2 separate regions of the Homo sapiens genome follow, and region 2 is linked to region 1. Evidence: promoter capture Hi-C in human tissues and cell types (Jung and others, 2019). All regions are on one chromosome and are shown on one strand. The core of a region is centred on a gene start or on the middle of the fragment in contact, and the rest is flanking DNA. Distances in the headings are between cores, read along the strand shown. Region 1 holds the start of PDRG1 (p53 and DNA damage regulated 1). Region 2 overlaps POFUT1 (protein O-fucosyltransferase 1).

Evidence for each region. Contacts are between HindIII fragments. The study calls those that stand out against the background at their distance.
Region 2: a fragment that was not itself captured here is called in contact with the fragment with the promoter of PDRG1 in region 1 in 1 of the 25 tissues and cell types used here (mesenchymal stem cells).

The regions. Positions count from the first base shown.
Region 1 is chr20:31,950,395-31,957,367 of GRCh38, reverse strand. PDRG1 (p53 and DNA damage regulated 1) reads left to right here and starts at 5,322. Exons shown (of 5, transcript NM_030815.3): 1 at 5,322-5,493. The coding sequence starts at 5,407. The HindIII fragment of the contact is 6,454 bases long and covers 3,591-6,973 here.
Region 2 is chr20:32,212,559-32,219,182 of GRCh38, reverse strand. It overlaps POFUT1 (protein O-fucosyltransferase 1), which reads right to left. Exons shown (of 7, transcript NM_015352.2): 3 at 3,732-3,914; 4 at 2,462-2,574. Among named protein-coding and RNA genes, the nearest start is that of POFUT1, 8.0 kb to the right of the region's middle. The HindIII fragment of the contact is 3,127 bases long and covers 2,871-5,997 here.

The sequences.
Region 1 (6,973 bases), core at 4,073-6,572:
TTGACAGCTATGTCTTTAAATGCATATCACAGTTTTGAAAAGACACACCCAAACTGGGATACTAGAGGGAACTGAGAAGAGGGGGAGGGGGGTAAAAAAGAGCTTAGTCTTCTCTGTAATGTTTTGAGTTTCCGTAAGAAGAATCCATTTATAGAAATTAAAATGAATGAATTTGGTATTAAAAGGTAGTAGTAAAAACCAGCTCAAGGAGGGCTGGAATGTTCTGGGCTTGCACTCTCTTTGGGATCACTTAAGATTTTTCAAGTCAAGCCATGGGCCATCTGTTGCCTGGTGAAAATGGAGGCGTGGGGAGTTGGGAGACATGTCCCCACCTGGTGTCCCCATCTGGCTGCATGACCTTGGGAGGGTCCCATCCCCTTGCCTGACCTCAATGTCCTCATCTGCCCAGTGGGATTCAGATTTTTGTGTTACCCAGGGATGTGGGAGGATGAAGTGAGGGCGCGAGGAGAATCACATGAATGTAAGGGATTATTCTCGGGGTCGGGGAGGAGACAGGGTGGAAGCCTGTCTTCCACCCACCAAGCCCACAAGGGTGCAAAGGAAGTGGAGGGAGGAGCTAGGGACCACCCAGGCGAGCACACAGCCCATCTGCAGCATAGGAGCATGTTCTCAGCAGCTGGGAGGCCCAGCCAGAGCTGGTAGGGCAGCCACCCAGGCTGCTTGGAGAATCCGGACATTAAAGGGGTTCCTCTCACTGCTCTCTCAGTGCAGCTCCAGCCCTGTCACCTCCCCAAGCCCCCATTTTCACCCTCCTGTCCGCTCAACACATACACACGTATCTCAGAGGAATGCACTGCACTTGCCCCTCTTCACCCATCCTATCACCAGAGCCACAGGGGCTTTCACAAGGTAAACCCAATCATATCTGTGCCTGCTCAGCACCCTCCAGCAGCTTCCCAGCATATGAGAACAAACCCAATCCCCGTACTTTAGTGGATAAGGCATGATCCCAGCCCTCACCTTTAAGAATCTGGCCTCAGAGAGAATCTGCCTTAAGTAGAATTCTGACTCTGCTCATTAATTCATTCATTCAAAATTGTTTATCAAGCACCTACTGTGGGAGCCAGGCACTGTTCTAGACATTTGAGAGACATCAGTGAAGAAATGAATGAAAGATTCCTGCCCTCAAGGAGCCTCTCTTCTAGCAGAGGGAGATGAACAATAACCATAAGTAAATTATAAGGCATGCTGGGAGGTGACAAAAGTTATGATGAAAAGAAAGAAAAAGAAAAACTAGAGCAGAGGAAGTTGATCAGGAGTAGCAGGAGGGGCAGAAGTTGCATTTTAAACATGGTGGTCAGGGCAGGCTCCATTGAAAAGGTGCCATTTAAGAAAAGACTGGGCCAGACGTGGTGACTCATGCCTGTATTCTCAGCACTTCGGAAGGCCGAGGCAAGCAAATTACCTGAGGTCAGGAGTTTGAGACCAGCCTGGCCAATGTGGTGAGACCCCTGTCTTTACTAAAAAAATACAACAATTAGCTGAGCATGGTGGCACACACCTGTAATCCAAGCTATTCAGGAGGCTGAGGCAGGAGAATCACTTGAACCCAGGAGGTGGAGGTTGCAGTGAGCCAAGATTGTGCCACTGCACTCCAGCCTGGGTAACAGAGTGAGACTCCATCTTAAAAAAAAAAAAAAAAAAAGCTGGTAGATGGTGAGGGAAGGAACCATGTAGACATCAGGGAAAAGTGCAGGCAGAGGCAGCAGCCAGTGGAAAGACCCTGAGGCAGGACCACGCCTGGCTTGTGTGAGCAGCAGCAGGGAGGTGGGTGATGACCCAGAGAGGGGGACACTTTTCCAGTGAACAAGACAGACAAGGTCTCTGCCCTGGGGAGCTCATGATTACAAAGCAAGGTGTTTAGAGAACAAAGATGGTATGGGAAGTACAGAGACAAGGGAAGTCCAAAAAACTGTGGGGGCCCAGAGAGGACTCTTGACCCTCAGGAGGAGGTAACCCCAAGCTGAGCAGTGGGGGATATGGAATAGTGACACGTGAATAAAGGCATGGGAGAAAATTAATCCAGAACGATGGGGGAGTATGTGCAAAGGCCCTGAGAATCCCACCACTGGTCACCACCCCCACTGCTATCTCTTGGTGCAGTGGCCACCCTCTCCTGCCTAGATGATTATAGCAGCCTCCTCTTGGGTCTCTCACAGAGGGGCAAAGAAGCTAGAGTATACAGTCACTAACGACTCTCTTTTCTTGGTAGGAGTTCACACTCGTGGATATTAATTCACTGCATTCCCCTCTCAACCTGCATCCATGAGCAGAGAGAAGCAGGAAGCCACAGGCATACACAGCAGTGTCTGCAGGTGACCTCTGGGGAGGCCCTAGTGGATTTTGGGTGGGGCACTGCCAGCACCTTCCACAGCCCTGTGTGCTCAATGTCTCCTTCTCCTCTCTGTCCTACCCTCTCCCCCTCACTAATTCTATTCAAATACACTGGCTGTTCCCTCTGCCTGGAATGCTCTTCCCCTAGATATCCACAAGGCTCACCCCCTCATCTCCTCCACACTTCTGTTCAAATGCCATCTCCTCAAAGACACCCTCTCTGACCAGCTTATCTCAAATAGCCCCTCCATTATTCCACCTCCACCTTGTCCTGTGCTATCTTTTCTTTTCTTATCTTTTCTTTTCTCCTTCCTTCCTTCCCTCCTTTCTTCCTTCCTTCCTTCCTTCCTTCCTTTCTTTCTTTCTTTCCTTCTTTCTTTCTTTTTCTTTCTTTCTCTCTTTCTTTTCTTTTCTTTTTTAGAGAAAGGGTCTCACTCTGTCACCCAGGCTGGGTTACAGTGGCACGATTGTAGCTCACTGCAGCCTTGAACTCCTGTGCTCAAGTGATCCTCCCACCTCAGCCTCCTGAGTAGCTGAGACAACAGCCGCACACCACTACATCTGGCTAACTTTTTAATTTTTATTTTTTTGGTAGAGATGGGGGTCTTGCTATGTTTCCCAGGCTGGTCTCGAACTCCTGGGTTCAAGTGATTCTCCACTTTGGCCTCCCAAAGTATTGGGATTACAGGTGTGAGCCCCCACATCAAGCCGCTATTTTTTTGGTAGCACTTTTTACCACCTGACATATGATATATTTACTTGTTTTATGTTGATTGTTTCTCTCACCAGACTGGGAGATTCCTGAGAGCAGGGACCATGTCCAGTTTTGCTCATGGCAGAATCCCTATCACAGGGCCTGGGAAGTCAATACATAATTGTGAAATAAATGGCTCTGAAATTGAAATGCTCTCCGAGAGTCTTTCTGGGTCTGACCATTTCAAAGTCTTGGAAATGACTATGATTCCCCTCCCCAACATTTCCAGTGGCCAGGGGTGGCCTCTAAAGGCCAGTTACCGCCAAGAAGCTGCTAATGTGGGAGCCTCCCTCAGCCTCTCCCCATCCAGGCCCATGTGGTAGGGGTCAAGGGTCAACCTGGTCCAGCCCTCTGTGGGTCCCAAGGTGGAGGAGACGCAGTGCTGGGGTCCAGGCCGAGGGATGCCTGGTGAGCCCCATTTCTGCTTTGGCAAACATCCCCCTTTCCTTCTCAGGGCCTGTGCCTGCATTTCTGAACCAGAAGGTGTTTATACAAAACATCCTGGGTTTGGCGACAAATTCACCCTCAGTGAGGAATCCTTAATGAATCTCCCTCCTTCCCCACACCAGGTGGCTGAAGGAAAAATTAGCTCTGCCTCTGGTAGTTGAAGGCAGCCAATGGCTAGGCAACATAGAGGTGCTGCTGGGGCTTCTGGGGCCACAATTTTTGGGGAGGGTTTTTTCAGGGTCCGGAAATGGCATGGACACCAGGCACTCCTGGCTTGCTGTGTGATGAGGCACTGCCTTTCTCCTGGCCTCAGTCTGCAGCTGTGAAATGGGGCAGTAATAATCCCATCCATACAAAGGTTGCTTTGACACTCAAGTAAGGCAAGGGGTGTGAAGGGGCTTGGTTACAAGAGGTCAAAAGGAGAGAATAAAACGCTGGAATCAGGGAGGCGAGACATCAGAGTGATAATATCGGTTCTGCTCTTTAGACTTTCAAAGTCCTTTCCCAGCGCCTTTTACAGCCATGTGGGCTCAATGCCTCCTTCCCTCTGACCTCCTGCCTGCTTCCCCCCCGCCCATTCTGTTCCACATACGCTGGCTGTTCCCTCTGCCTGGAACACTCTTCTCCTAGGCATCCACATGGCTCACCCCTCACCTTCTTTTCAAAGCCTTGCCTCTCTCTGAGGTTTGTTTTTTCCAGCTATCCAATGAGGAGTTTGGGCGTGAAGACCTCGTGGGAACCCTCTGGTTCTGATGGTAACCATTTTCCACCTGCCTGCCTTCTCTGGGAAGTCCTCCCAATCCTACCACCCACACCCACCTGCTTTTCTGAGCTAGCACTTCATTGCTTACTGCCCATAGTTTTCAAGTCCCTTCCTTATGTATAGGCCAGCTACTCTGGACATTGGGCCCAACACAGGGGCTCAAGTGAACTCTGGTTAAACGGAATTAAAAGTGATTACTGCTTCCTTTGTTTTTTGAGACAGAGTCTCGTTTTGTCACCCGGGCTGGAGTGCAGTGGTGCCATCATAGCTCAGGGCAGCCTCGACTCCCCAGATGCAGGTGCTCCTCCCGCCTCAGCCTCCTGAGTAGCTGGGACCAACGGGCGCGCCCCCCCTCACCCAGCTAATTTTTTTTTTTTGTATTTTTAGTAGAAACGGAGGTTTTACTGTGTTGCCCAAGCTGGTCTCGAACTCCTGGGCTCAAGTGATCCCCCCGCTTTGGCCTTCCAAAGTACTGGGATTACAGGCATGAGCCACTGCGCCCAGCTGATTCCTGCTTCCTTCCGATCCTGTGGAGAGACACTGAGGCGGATTTTTATTCACCCCCTTTTTATAAATTAGAAACTGAAAGTGTCAGAGATTAAACATAAGTCACACTGCCACATGGGCCTTCTTGGTGTTTCTTAGCCAGGGGAAGAATAATATTTCCCAGATCCTAATCACTACCTGCCACGGTATATAATTGTTTTGCCATTAATTGTCGGTGTTTCCCACTAGGATGAAGTTCCATGAGGGCAGGGATTTTGTTGTGTTCACTGCTGCATCCTAAGCACATAAAACTGCTTGGCACATAATAAGTGCTCAAGAAGCATGAACCGAGGGAGTAACGGGTCAGAGGCAGCCCGAGGACTGAGCTCTCTGAGCCTGCAGAGGGCGCTCCAGCCCCGCCCCCAAAGCTAGGCCCCGCCTCTCGCAGCCGGCTGGCGCACTAGTGTTAGAGCCTGCGCACCACCGTTCTTTTAACTGCGCAGGCGCGCCGGAAGCACCTAGAGAGCGGCGCGTGCGCAGCGGGAGTCGAAGCGGAGATCCCGGGGTCGCGCGAGAGCCGCAAGCGGAGTTGGTGGGCGCTATGCTATCACCCGAGGCAGAGCGAGTGCTGCGGTACCTTGTAGAAGTGGAGGAGCTCGCCGAGGAGGTGCTGGCGGACAAGCGGCAGGTGAGAGGCCCCTCCGCGGCGCTGGGGCCTGGCGGCCGGCGCCGTGGGAAAGCGCGCGGGGTCGCAGTGAGTTGACCTGGACAGGCGGTTAACGGCTCCGAGGCGACAGACCTGGGCCGATAAATATTCGGCCGCTACTAAGTGAGCGCCTGCGCTATGCTGGACATTCCTCTCTCTTCATCCTTTCTCTGCCCCTTGCCATGCTCTGTGGATCTCGACCCATCATGCTCTGGGCCGTTTCCCTGAGCACCTGTTTCAAAATGCACTTCCCGGCCCCATGGTTGATCTAGGGGCACCGCCCTGTAAAGGCCCTCAGGGGAGAGCTGGAACCGAAAAGAAGCCTGAGGGGGCCTTGTGACCGGGCAGGGGTGGGGACGTGGGGGAAGGTGGCGCCCTGTTTATGGGGTGTCTTGTTTTAAGTGCCAAGTTTTTGAGGGGAGTTCCTGGGGGAAGGAGGGTGACGTAATTGGATTTAGGTTTTAAAAGGATCCCCCCTGGCTGCTGTGTGGAATACAGAATATAGGTGGGCAAGGGCGGAGGCAGGGAGATGGGTGAGGGGCCATTGGTATGGTCCAGACCAGAGATGGATTTGGACTAGGTAGTGGTGGTGGAGAGAAGTGAAGGGGTCAGAAATGTATTTTGGAGACAGACTCAGTAGGCCGTGGTAGTGGAGCCGGGGGAGTCGTGACTCCCTCTCATCTCCAGTTAGAAGGGTCAGGTATTTACTGAGAAGGGGAAAACTTGGGCAAGATCCTGTCAAATTAAGTACTGGATCAGGGTGTGCTGGATGAGAATAAGAGCAGTTAAAGTTTATCAGCTACTTACTATGTGCCAGGTACTGTGTTAAGTCATTTAATTGCTGGCTCAATAACCTGTAAGGTAGGTACTGTCCGTAGCTCCATTTTGAGGAGGAGTAAATAGGAAGGTGAAATTACACAGCTTGAGGCAGATAGCAGGATTCGAACCTGGGTATTCCAAATCCAGAACCAGCACTCGTGCAGTATACTGTACTACTGCGTCACTTCCTTAGTAGCTATTGTGTTGTTACCACTGTCTCAGTGCCCCCAATCCTGCTGTTCCAATCTAGTATTGTTGGGTTTCTCATATTACTAGTTCAGAATCAGCTGGAGAAGTTTGTCCAAAAATAAACATTAGGCCTGCTTAATCACAGTGTGTAGGGGAAGGGTTTCCACTCCCCTGGTGATTCTGATATGCCCTAAAGTTCGAGTGGATAATGCAGAATTTCCCATTTAGTCAGCACATGTTTTCTCAGCATCTTTTCTGGGGAGAGGGCAGCTGCACAAAGCATTGTCTTTAAGACCAGGAAGCTGAGTGAGAGAAGAAATACATTCACACATCAATCCATTTTAGGCAGGACGTTGAATGTAATCAGGAATAATGCATTGCCTCTGCAACCCTTGTCTGTCAAGAGGTGACAGCTTGGGGCAAGAGATAGCTGAGTTCCCTCCTGTCCCTGTGG
Region 2 (6,624 bases), core at 3,185-5,684, 260 kb before region 1:
TGAGTTCCATTGGGGCAGGGACCTTATCTGCCTTATTCTGGCCTTGTTCATTCCCTGCCTTGTTCATGTCCTTATTCTGGCCTATATCCCCAGCATCCAAACCAGCCCTTGACACTCAGGAAGTGCTTCTTAAATATGTGTTGAAGGAAGACAGGCAGCTGCCAAGGGACCATCAACTCCCTCAAACTCCCTCTAGGGACCTCATCTTCCCTACTAATTTTCCTTTCCCAAAAACTTGGCTGTAAGGCACAAACTTCTTCAAACCCTCATGTAATTCTTACAACTCAATGAACTCAAACAAAGCTATGGGGCAATAAACAAGTGTTTCAACAACACTCCCCATGCACCATTGTCCTTTCTCTTCCTACTAGGATTGTGTGCTTTTTCTAGCTTTTTGGAATTTGCTTTTGGAGTTGCTTTTAGAGTTGGTGGCTTTTTTTTCTTTCTTTTTTTCCTGGCATATTGTCAATATGGGCAAATCTCCATCCTTTGAGGGCAGGTCTGCCTTCTGGCAATAGCTCCAGGTCATTCGGAGGTGAATGGGGGAGAACCATGCAGGCAGAGAATGGGAGTGTGCTATCTGGGATCAACAATGAGGAAGATTTAAATCTGCCATGACTGAGGATCCTCAGTGGCACATGAACTAGGTCCAAAGCTAGGTCCAAAGGCAAGTCCCAGAAGGGAACTGGCAGCTGTTAAAGGCACAGCTATTTAATCCACTGTGATTAAGAACAGGTGCTTTGGGACTGGGCGCAGCAGCTCATGCTTGTAATCCCAGCACTTTGGGAGGCTGAGGTGGGAGGATCACTTGAGGCCAGGAGTTTAAGACCAGCCTGGGCAACATAGCAAGACCCTGTTTGTACAAAACAAAACAAAATATTCGTCAGGCATGGTGGCACATGCCTGCACTCCCAGCTGCTTGGGAGGCGGAGCGGGGAGGATTGCTTGAGCCCAGGGATTTGAGGTTATAGTGAGTTATGATCATGCTACTGTACTCCAGCCTGGGAGACAAGCAAGACCCATTTCAAATATAAATATATAAAGTAACTGGTGCTTTGGATTCAGACTTCTGGGTTCAAAACCAAGCTCTGCAACTTCAAGCTTTATGACCTTGGGCAAGGGACCTTATTCCTTTCTGCTTCAATTTCTCTAAGTGTAAAGCACAGATGGCAGTAACAACCCACAGACTCAGGGAAAGATTAAGTGAGTCAATACCTGTGAAGACTTAGAACAGTGTCTGGCACATAGAAGACACTAAATGAATCTTAGCTGTTGTTATTTATTAAAGATTTACAAACAGACCTGAGCTGTCCACTCAACAGCTCAATGACCTTGGGAAGTTATTTAACTTCACTGGGCTCAGTTTCCTCACCTATAAAATGGAAATTGATAATAATACCCACTTCATGAACTATCTCAAAGTCTTAAATAAAATAAAGCATGTGAGTAATAACACTGACAGCCAACACTGGCTGGCTGCTTAGTGTATGACATGCACTTCATGCACTACGAGGCAGATACCATCAGCGCTGGCTATCTCACTCCTTGGCCTGTGCTTGTTTTGTTTTGCTGAGACAGGCCCTTGCTCTGTAACCTGGGCTGGAGTGCAGGGGTACCATCATGGCTCACTGCAGCCTTGATCTCTTAGGCTCAAGTGATCCACCCACCTTGGCCTCCCAAAGTGCTGGGATTACAGGCATGAGACTCATTTCTCTACATCTGTTTACCTTTGCCCTATTAAATGCCAAGTGCTTTGACCGCACATGAATTAGTATGTTCCCTGCACCTCCTAACCAATGTCTGCCTTCTAAGCCCATGGTCTTTCCTGCCATGCTATAACATTAAGGACAAGTACACTATGCTGATTATTGTCATTATGAGACCATAGCTCCTAGAAAACCAGAGCTGGTCATCCTCATTTTCACACATCACCATTGGCCTCTGATTACTATGTCTCACACGTGACAGGCGCCCTATAAATGTTTCACGGCCTGTGCCCACGTCCTGCTAACCTATATTTTTTAAAAACAGGGGCTAATGGGGTGCAATTAATAAACACGTCCAATAATTATCAGGATGACGTCATTTCTCGGTCTGCACCTGAAGCTGTTCTCTAGAAGCTGCTTCCAGTTTCACCTTGGGAAGAGTAAGGTAACACAGGAGTGATTCTCACGCCTAGAGGAGGAAATTGAGACTCATGCGACTGCAGAATGTTCTTTTTATGACATCCCTTATCAACCGATGAACTCTTTCTCAATCTCATGGCGGGTCAATGTTCCACCGTGTCAGGCGTGGACATGGGAACAGATCACACAGGATTCCAAGTTCAACAGACAGAGCACCTGCACCTTTGGTCTCATACATCAGAGTTGGGAAGATGGGGAGAGTGCCAGAAGGTGCTGAATGCTCATGAGCTCCATGCGCCTCCCCTAAACCCAGAAACGCTACCCCCTCCAAGTACCTCTGGCTCCATTGTTCTCTGTAGGAAGCACTGAAGGAAATGCCTGTAAAAAGCTCCGACTTGTTGAAACTCACATGAAACTGATCCCAGAATGGGCCAAAGGGGTTTCCTTCCTGCAGAAAGAGAGTGGTGGAAGGCTTACTGATGGGGAGGGAAAGCCATTTGGGGATGGGGCCAGGGAAGTGTAGGTGGGGGAAGCTGGGTGATGTGACTCAGGCCAAAACACTCTCACAGGATGGCCTAGGAGAAATGTCACTCTGCAATTCCTAGGCCAGGGGCTGAGCAGAGTGCCGTGGCTTCAATTCTGGATTCCAGCAGGAGAGTCTTTCCTGTTCACATGTCACATCCTGCTGACCCAGCAGCACTGATGAGGGTCTGGGGAGAAGCAGACCTTGGATTTTGAACCAAGGACTAGAGCTTCAAGAGACATTCAAGATTGGCTAATCCAATGCCTTCATTTTCAAGGTGGAAACCAAGGCCCACTGAGGGTCAGACACTTACCCAAGGTTACACAGCCAGTAAGGGCACTGTTGGGGCTGTGAGCTAGGTCTCCTTTCTCAAATTTCATAGTTCTTCCAACCACTTTCCCAAGACTTTAGCACATACACCGAAAGACATACTTGGGGGTTTATTTCCAAAGTGCCAGAAATGTATAAATTTCTTTTAATAAGATATGACAGCCTCTCATTTACCTGCTGAGATGCAGGAAGGTATTCAAGTTAAGTGGGTAGACAATGGTGCCAAATTACCTAAGGTTGAATCCCAGCTCTACCACTTGTTTGCTGTGTGATCCTGGGTAAGACACTGACCCTCTCTGTGCCATCCTCGGTGTCCTCTCTATGAAGTGGGGATATTATAAGTATTTTCCTCATGGAACAGTGTGAGTATTAAATGAGTTGATACATGTAAAGCTCTTAGCGTGGTACCTGACATACATAGTAAGTGCTACATGAATATTAGTTATTATTACTGATGTGGCACTTTGCAGTTTACAAGCACTTTTTCACCTGGCCCTCATGACACTTTAGGAGTGAGACAGAGCAGGGACTGGCATCTCTATTTTGTAGGTAGAAATGAAGGTTCAGAGAAGCAAAGTCTTCTGCCCAAGGTGATGCAGCTTCGCTAACAAATGCCAGAAACAGGACTTAAATCTCCATCTTTCTATTCTAAGTCCTTCTGGTGCTTTTCCCCACATTTTGCCATGACATAGTCTTGGGGGCCTAGAGGACATGGAACAGGAAGAAAGGGCCCCCGAACCCACAGGACCCACCTTCATGGGGCACGTCTTCTTATCTGGGCTTCGCTGGGCTGCCACCTCAAAGCAGTATGCCACCCGCTTCTCAGGGGGCCAGTGGGTGGGTGCCAGCTTCTCCATGAAATCCTCCAAGCTGATGACCCGATGGTAAGCCTGGAGGGGCTCCAGCTTGAAGTACTTCTGGTAGGACACATGGAGCTACAGGAAAAGGAGGAGCAGAGGTCCCGTCTCAGTGCCCCCGTGGCTACTTTAGACATTTATTAAAACAATACACTCCAGGCCAGGTGCAGTGGCTCACGCCTGTAATCCCAGCACTTTGGGAGGATAAGGCGGGCGGATCACTTGAGGTCAGGAGTTCGAGACCAGCCTGGCCAACATGGTGAAACCCTGTCTTTACTAAAATACAAGAAAATTAGCTGGGGGTGGTAGCGAGCACCTGTAGTCCCAGCTACTGGGGAGACTGAGGTAGGAGAACTGCTTGAACCCAGGAGGTGGAGGTTGCTTGCAGTGAGCCAAGATTGTGCCACTGGACTCCAGCTTGGACGACAGAGCAAGACTCCGTCTCAAAAAAACAAAAACACTCCAAGACCAAGACAGTTCAGACTACATGACAATTAAAAGTTTTCATCAAAAGACGCCAAAGCTAGGATAGACAGGCTAGCAGGAGAGTCTGCAAACTAAAGAACAAACAGTAACATCCCTTGTGTTAAAAAACACCTGCTGATCTGTAACAAAAAAAGACAAATAATGCCAAGATAAAACACAGGCAAAGGTTAGGGGTAAACAATTCACAGCAAAGGAAACCCAAATAGCCAACACACTCAGAAGATGTCTAACCTCATTAGTAATTAGGAAAAAGCAAATTACAATTATAACGAGGCATCAATTACTTCTCACTCATGAGACTAGCAAAAACTGAAAAGCTTAACTTGTGGGGAAATGCGCACTCTTCTACACGGCCGGTAGCAGAAGTCTACATTTTGGAGCAACCAGTTTGGGATCCAATCGGTGAGTATCTAATAGAATTTAAAATGCTCCTTCTGGCCAGGTGTGGTAGCTCATGTCTGTAATCTCAGCACTTTGGGAGGCCGAGGTAGAAGGATCACTTGAGGCCAGGAGTTCAAGACCAGCCTAGACAACATAGCGAGACCCTGTCTCTACAAAAAATAAAAAAATTAGCTGGGCGTGGTGGTGCACATCTGTAGTCCCAGCTACTAGGGAGGCTGAGATGGAAGGATTTCTTGCATTCAGGAGGGTGAGGCTTCAGTGATGTGTGACTGTGCCACTGTACTCTAGCCTGGGCCACAGAGTGAGACTCTGTCTCAAAAAAAAAATTTTTTTTTTTTAATGTACCTTCCTCTTCTAACTATTTGCTCTAGAGAAGTACAGAAGTTCTTGCACTTTGGACCTGGAGATCAGTACCAGGATGCTCAGTGCCACAATGAAAGTATAGGAAGGAACATCAAAGGAGTCACACCAAATACACTATATCCACAACAGTTGTTAAGGGAACAGGGTTAGCCCCAGGGGCCAAAAAGAGACTTCATCTTTTACCAACTTTATCTGTAACGCTTTATTTCTTTTATTAACAAAAAGAGAAGATGAAACAAACATGAGAAAGTGTTAACAATTATCACTTCTAATGGTGGGTATATGGTTGGTGGTTGTATTCATCTGTGTAATTTTCTTTTTTTTTGAGATGGAGTCTCACCCTGTCACCCAGGCTGGAGTGCAATGGCGTGATCTCAGCTCACTGCAACCTCCCCCTCCCAGGTTCAAGCGATTCTCCTGCCTCAGCCTCCCGAGTAGCTGGGATTGCAGGCACGCACCACCACGCCGGCTAATTTTTTGTATCTATAGTAGAGATGGGGTTTCACCATTTTGGCCAGGCTGGTCTCAAACTCCTGACCTCGTGATCTGTCCACCTCGGTCTCCCAAAGTGCTGGGATTACAGGCGTGAGCCACTGCGCCCAGCCTCATCTTTATATTTTTCTACTTTTTTTTTTTTTTTGAGATGGAGTCTTGCTCTGTCTCCCAGGTTGGAGTGCAGTGGCGCGATCTCGGCTCACTGCAAACTTCGCCTCCCGGGTTCAAGCGATTCTTCTGCCTCAGCCTCCTGAATAGCTGGGATTACAGGCGGGCGCCACGACGCCCAGCTAACTTTTTTAGCAGAGATGGGGTTTCACCATGTTGGCCAGGCTGGTCTTGAACTTCTGACCTCAAGTGATTTGCCCGCCTCCCACTGCGCCTGGCATATTTTTCTAGATTTTAAAAAATTTCTGGCTGGGTGCGGTCACTTTCACCTATAATCCCAGTACTTTGGGAGGCTGAGGCGGATGGATCACCTGAGGTCAGGAGTTGGAGACCACTCTGGACAACATGGTGAAACCCCATCTCTACTAAAAATACAAAAATTAGCTAGGCATGGTGGTGGGCACCTGTAATCCCAGCTACTTGGGAGATCTGAGGCAGTAGAATCGCTTTAACCCAGGAGGTGGAGGTTGTGGTGAGCCAAGATCGTGCCACTGCACTCCAGCCCGGGTGACAAGAGCAAAACTCCGTCTTGGAAAAAAAAAAAAAATTCTGGCTGGGCGCAGTGGCTTTTGCCTGTAATCCTAAAACTTTGCAAGGCCAAGGCAGGTAGAATACTTGAGGCAGGGAGTTCGAGACCAACCTGGCCAACATGGCGAAACCTCGTCTTTACTAAAAATACAAAAAATTAGCTGGGTGTGGTGGCACATGCCTGTAGTCCCAGCTACTCAAGAGTAGAGGCACAAAAATCACTTGAACCCGGGAGGCAGAGGGTGCAGTGAGCCAAGATTCTGCCACTGCACTTCAGCCTAGGTGACAGAGCGAGACTCTTCATCAAAAATGAAAAACAAACAAAACCAAAAAAATTTCTACAGGG